2 separate regions of the Homo sapiens genome follow, and region 1 is linked to region 2. Evidence: promoter capture Hi-C in human tissues and cell types (Jung and others, 2019). All regions are on one chromosome and are shown on one strand. Each heading gives the region's core, a stretch centred on a gene start or on the middle of the fragment in contact. The rest is flanking DNA. Distances are from core to core; before and after follow the strand shown. Region 1 has its middle 54 kb from the start of LINC00999. Region 2 holds the start of ZNF25 (zinc finger protein 25).

Region 1 (3,396 bases), core at 626-3,125, 400 kb before region 2:
CAACATTAGACAGATCAACGAGACAGAAAGTTAACAAGGATATCCAGGAATTGAACTCAGCTCTGCACCAAGCAGACCTAATAGACATCTACAGAACTCTCCACCCCAAATCAACAGAATATACATTCTTCTCAGCACCACACAGCACTTATTCCAAAATTGACCACATAGTTGGAAGTAAAGCATTCCTCAGCAAATGTGGAAGAACAGAAATTATAACAAACTGTCTCTCAGACCACAGTGCAATCAAACTAGAACTCAGGATTAAGAAACTCACTCAAAACCACTCAACTACATGGAAACTGAACAACCTGCTCCTGAATGACTACGAGGTACATAACGAAATGAAGGCAGATATAAAGATGTTCTTTGAAACCAATGAGAACAAAGACACAACACACCAGAATCTCTGGGACACATTTAAAGCAGTGTGTAGAGCGAAATTTATAGCACTAAAAGCCCACAAGAGAAAGCAGGAAAGATCTAAAATTGACACTCTAACATCACAATTAAAAGAACTAGAGAAGCAAAAGCAAACACATTCAAAAGCTAGCAGAAGGCAAGAAATAACTAAGATCAGAGCAGAACTGAAGGAGATAGAGACACAAAAAAACCCTTCAAAAAATCAATGAATCCAGGAGCTGGTTTTTTGAAAAGATCAACAAAATTGACAGACTGCTAGCAAGACTAATAAAGAAGAAGAGAGAGAAGAATCAAATAGACGCAATAAAAAATGATAAAAGGGATATCACCACCGATCCCATCTGAGAATACTATAAACACCTCTACGCAAATAAACTAGAAAATCTAGAAGAAATGGATAAATTCCTGGACACTTACACCCTCCCAAGACTAAACCAGGAAGGGGTCAAATCCCTGAATAGACCAATAACAGGATCTGAAATTGAGGCAATAATAGCCTACCAACCAAAAAAAGCCCAGGACCAGACAGATTCACAGCCGAATTCTACCAGAGGTACAAGGAGGAGCTGGTACCATTCCTTCTGAAACTATTCCAATCAATAGAAAAAGAGGGAATCCTTCCTAACTCATTTTATGAGGCCAGCATCATCCTGATACCAAAGCCTGACAGAGACACAACAAAAAAAGAGAATTTTAGACCAATATCGCTGACGAACACTGATGCAAAAATCCTCAATAAAATACTGGCAAACCGAATCCAGCAGCACATCAAAAAGCTTATCCACCATGATCAAGTGAGCTTCATCCCTGGGATGCAAGGCTGATTCAACATACGCAAATCAATAAACGTAATCCAGCATATAAACAGAACCAAAGACAAAAACCACAAGATTATCTCAATAGATGCAGAAAAGGCCTTTGACAAAATTCAACAGCACTTCGTGTTAAAAATTCTCAATAAATTAGGTATTGATCGGACATATCTCAAAATAATAAGAGCTATTTATGACAAACTCACAGCCAATATCATATTGAATGGGCAAAAACTAGAAGCATTCCCTTTGAAAACTGGCACAAGACAGGGACGCCCTCTCTCTCCACTTCTATTCAACATAGTGTTGGAAGTTCTGGCCAGGGCAATCAGGCAGGAGAAAGAATGAAAGGGTATTCAATTAGGAAAAGGGGAGGTCAAATTGTCCCTGTTTGCAAATTACATGATTGTATATTTAGAAAACCCCATTGTCTCAGCCCAAAATCTCCTTAAGCTGATAAGCAACTTCAGCAAAGTCTCAGGATACAAAATCAATGTGCAAAAATCACGAGCATTCTTATACACCAATAGGAGACAAACAGAGAGCCAAATCATGAGTGAACTCCCATTCACAATTGCTTCAAAGAGAATAAAATATCTAGGAATTCAACTTACAAGAGATGTGAAGGACCTCGTCAAGGAGAACTACAAACCACTGCTCAATGAAATAAAAGAGGACACAAACAAATGGAAGAACATTCCATGCTCATGGATAGGAAGAATTAATATCATGAAAATGGCCATACTGGCCAAGGTAATGTATAGATTCAATGCCATCCCCATCAAGCTGCCAATGACTGTCTTCACAGAATTGGAAAAAACTACTTTCAAGTTCATATGGAGCCAAAAAAGGGCCCGCATTGCCAAGACAATCCTAAGCCAAAAGAACAAAGCTGGAGGCATCACGCTACCTGACTTCAAACTATACTACAAGGCTACAGTAACCAAAACAGCATGGTACTGGTACCAAAACAGAGATATAGACCAATGGAACAGAACACAGCCCTCAGAAATAATGCCGCATATCTACAACCATCTGATCTTTGACAAACCTGACATAAACAAGAAATGGGGAAAGGATTCCCTATTTAATAAATGGTGCTGGGAAAACTGGCTAGCCATATGTAGAAAGCTGAAACTCGATCCCTTCCTTACACCTTATACAAAAATTAATTTGAGATGGATTAAATACTTAAATGTTAGACCTAAAACCATAAAAACCCTAGAAGAAAACCTAGGCAATACCATTCAGGACATAGGCATGGGCAAGGACTTCATGTCTAAAACACCAAAAGCAATGGCAACAAAAGCCAAAATTGACAAATGGGATCTAATTAAACTAAAGAGCTTCTGCAAAGCAAAAGAAACTACCATCAGAGGAAGGCAACCTACAGAATGGGAGAAAATTTTCACAATCTACCCATCTGACAAAGGGCTAATATCCAGAATCTACAATGAACTCAAATTTACAAGAAAAAAACAAACAACCCCATCAACAAGTGGGCAAAGGATATGAACAGACACTTCTCAGAAGAAGACATTTATGCAAGCAAAAGACACATGCAAAAATGCTCATCATCACTGGCCATCAGAGAAATGCAAATCAAAACCACAGTGAGATACCATCTCACACCAGTTAGAATGGCGATCATTAAAAAGTCAGGAAACAACAGGTGCTGGAGAGTATGTGGAGAAATAGGAACACTTTTACACTGTTGGTGGGACTGTAAACTAGTTCAACCATTGTGGAAGACAGTGTGGCAATTCCTCAAGGATCTAGAACTAGAAATACCATTTGACCCAGCCATCCCATTATTGGATATATACCCAAAGGATTATAAATCATGCTGCTATAAAGACAGATGCACATGTATGTTTACTGCGGCACTATTCACAATAGCAAAGACTTGGAATCAACCCAAATGTCCATCAATGATAGACTGGATTAAGAAAATGTGGCACATATACCACATAGAATACTATGCAGCCATAAAAAAGGATGAGTTCATATCCTTTGTAGGGACATGGATGAAGCTGGAAACCATCATTCTCAGCAAACTATCACAAGGACAAAAAACCAAATACCGCATGTTCTCACTCATAGGTGGGAACTGAACAATGAGAACACATGGACACAGGAAGGGGAACCTCACACACTGGGG
Region 2 (3,286 bases), core at 442-2,941:
TGAATTTTCCTTCTTGCAAAAAGGGAAAAAGACCTTTACTCCTCTCTTTTCTTACAGCATTTCCTTAAGAAAACTTGTAATTGTAAATCCCTTCTCTGTCCCTGTGAGATATAGCAAAACTTTTTAAAAAGTAAATAAGCTTCTTGCTAGTTTAACAACCCAGGAAGGTCTTTCTTAATGGCCTTGGGTCATGTCTTTGAAATGTAAGCATCAAGGAAGATTGCACCCCATCTCCCTGCCTCTGTGGTAAACTCCTAGGCTCCTGGCTACCCGCGGTTAACTACCTGCGTGTCATAGAGATACCAGAAACTTTACTTTTCATTTGCATAATGGCAATTAACTAACACTGATGGCTACCCTAATTATCAGGTGAATTTCAGATGAATTATGCATAGCAAATGTTGCTGTACAGTCATCTTACTTGAGGACAAGTTATTTTTACCTTGAGGAAATAGAATGCGTTGTACCAGACCGGCTAATACAAAAAATGATAGTTCTTCCTGTCTTCATAAACTCATTAGTGGGTTGCCTGTGACGCACATCGCAGTCTGGTTTAATGTTTATTCAATAATGTAACTGTTTTGTTCTTTTCTCCATCTGTGGAGAGAATTTTCTGGGTTGGCAAGAGGCTTTATTTTAAATTATTTCCTCAATACTTCCCATCCAGAAAGGTGGTGTGTGTGTGTGTATTATGTGCGCATATTTTTATATGTATATATATGTGTGTTTATACACATGACAATATATACGTTTTTTTCTAGATGATTCTACATGTTTTAATGTAATAAAGTTATTGACCAGGAAATATATAATTTGTTTTACATATACAGCCAAGTCCTCTCTCTGTATCCGCGGGGGATTAGTACCAGGACCTCCCTGGATTACTCAAATCCAGGGATGTTCAAGTCTCTGGTAGAAAATAACCTGATATTTGCATAACCTACACACCTCCTCCTGTATATTTTAAATTATGTCTAGATTAATTGTACACCTAACACAATGTAAATACTATGTAAATAGTTTTATTGTATTGTTTAGGGTATAATGACAAGGGGGAAACTTTGTACATGTTCAGTAAGATAGAATTTTTAAGTATTTTCATTCTGAGCTTAGTTGAATCCATAGATATGCACCCCCAGGATAAGGAGGGATGACTATATATATTCCTTAGTGAAATGATAGTCATGATACTCTATACCATTAGGTTAAAATTTGTGTAAATTCATGAGAAGGATGTTCACCTAACATTAAGCGCTTTTGCTTTTGGGAAGTGGTATACTCGTTTTCTGTTTTAGCTTATACATATTTTGTAGTTTATTACGTTTCGCGTACCGTTTGCACAATTGTGAAAGCTAGCATTCCTAAGAGGAAGCGGTTACAGGGCATTATCCTTCATTACTCCACGTACTCCTGTACCCACGGAGTTCAATCACTTTAACAAAACTGCCCATCAGTGTTCCTTGGAGCACCTCACGGTGGATTTCTGTCTTCAAGCCCAGACGTGCAGGGTGCAGCTCTCCGGCCATCACTGAGCAAGGACAGCGCCCTCTCCCGGAAACCCGACAGCAATCACTCAGGCCGCTGGAGGCGGCCGCGCCTCACGACGTCATCCAAGATGGAGTCGCAGCCGGGCCTTCTGGGAAGCGTAGTTCTGGAGTAGGGCTAGGGAAACGTTCTGCGCATGTGCAGTGTCTTCTTTCTGGCATTGGCGTTTTTTTGGTCTTACGCCCTAGGGTGGGGAGAGGACTCCGGTGCCTCCGGGTCTGGGCTGGGCCGCAAAGGGCGGGGCCTGGGCCCGGCGCGGGCCGGGAGCAGAGGCCGAGACCCTGCAGGTGTGTCGAAGGCTTTTGCGGGCGGGCAGGGCCTGGGAGGCGGGGTCTCGAGCCTGGAAGCCGCCTCCTGGCCCCGGAGCGGCCTCCGCGGAGGGCCCTGGGTGGGAGCCGCCTGGTGGGGAGGTTGGCTGGCTGCGCTGGCGCCCCTGCCCGGAATGGCGTTTGCGCGACCTGCTTGAGGGGCGGCCAGAGGAGGCCTGCGGTGCTGGGCAGTGGGCGCCCGGAGCAGCCGCATTGTGTGACGTGACCGGAGCCGCCATGTGAGGCGCGCTGGCCGCTGCAGACGCGGCGCTCCAAAGCCGCAGGGACGTGGGCTCTGGTCCAGCGTCTGTAGGTGGTCCCAGTGCGGCTCGACGCGCATCTGGCAAATGATGGGGGCCTTTGGGTACTGAATAGGGTAATAGATGTAAAGTATGATACAGGACTCAATAAAGGTGAGCTGCTTCTATTATTACAAAACATGCTGTTTTCATTATTGGCTCATTTAATCATCGTAACCATCCTTTCGACTTAACCATCTCTATTAAAATAAATGTGACTATTAAAGATTCAGAGAGAGAAATCCGTTTACCCACAGTATTAGCAGGTGGGATGTAAATCCTCACTTTTTCCTCTGAGTTAATGCGCCTTGCCACACTAAAATCCAGTCTTGACTTGTATTTAGCACAGCATTTGCCCCTTGAGCACCACCAGAACGTAGCTGTGTGGTGTACTTGAACCCAGTCTCAACCAGGTAGTGTTCTGTTTCCAAAAATGCTTGGGGAATCTTCAGAGCACTTGAGTCAAAAGGTGAATTATTTAAGGCCTTCCTGCATCCTCCAACCTTAGTCTCTTCTCAGAGGACTGTGAAACGTGTAAATTGAAACCACAATTTGAGCCCTCAATTTTGCATTTTACAGGAGAAGCTGGGAATCCCATCCAGCCCAGAGGCTAGTTTCTAAAGACAGGAAATGGGACAAAAAATTTTTTTAAAGATGAAAACTGCAGTTCATCAGTTCCTCCATTTTATGGTGGTGATCTTATAATGCCTCTCATTGGCTGATAACTGAGCTTAGGCATTTCGTAAGCACCATGCTAGCTGGAAGTGGTTTTTGCTGCTTATTTTAGTTTTTTTTTTTGGTACATAATGTACATATTTGTGGGGTACATGTGATATTTTGATATATGCATACAATGTGTCATGATCAAATCGGGGTAATTACAATATCCACCGCCTCATTTATCATTTCTTTGTGTTGCAAATATTCGAAATCTTCTAGCTATTCTGATAGCTAATAAATTATTGCTAACACTTGTAACCATACTGTGCTATTGAACACTAGGACTTAATCCTTCTACCTAACTGTATTTTTGTACCCATTAACCAACCTCTCTTCATTCCTCACTCCCTACTTCCCTTCGCAGCCTCTGGTAACCATCATTCTACATCGTATCTTCATGAGATCAACTATCTT

Evidence for each region. Contacts are between HindIII fragments. The study calls those that stand out against the background at their distance.
Region 1: a fragment that was not itself captured here is called in contact with the fragment with the promoter of ZNF25 in region 2 in 1 of the 25 tissues and cell types used here (lymphoblastoid cells).

What each region holds. Positions count from the first base shown.
Region 1 is chr10:38,372,824-38,376,219 of GRCh38, reverse strand. It overlaps the pseudogene HSD17B7P2. Among named protein-coding and RNA genes, the nearest start is that of LINC00999, 54 kb to the left of the region's middle. The HindIII fragment of the contact is 6,075 bases long and covers 1-3,396 here.
Region 2 is chr10:37,975,052-37,978,337 of GRCh38, reverse strand. It overlaps ZNF25 (zinc finger protein 25), which reads left to right and starts at 1,691. Exons shown (of 6, transcript NM_145011.4): 1 at 1,691-1,832. It overlaps ZNF25-DT (ZNF25 divergent transcript), which reads right to left and starts at 1,583. Exons shown (of 6, transcript XR_930830.4): 1 at 1,333-1,583. RefSeq lists enhancers at 1,448-1,677, 2,718-2,807 and a silencer at 1,718-2,127. The HindIII fragment of the contact is 22,972 bases long and covers 1-3,286 here.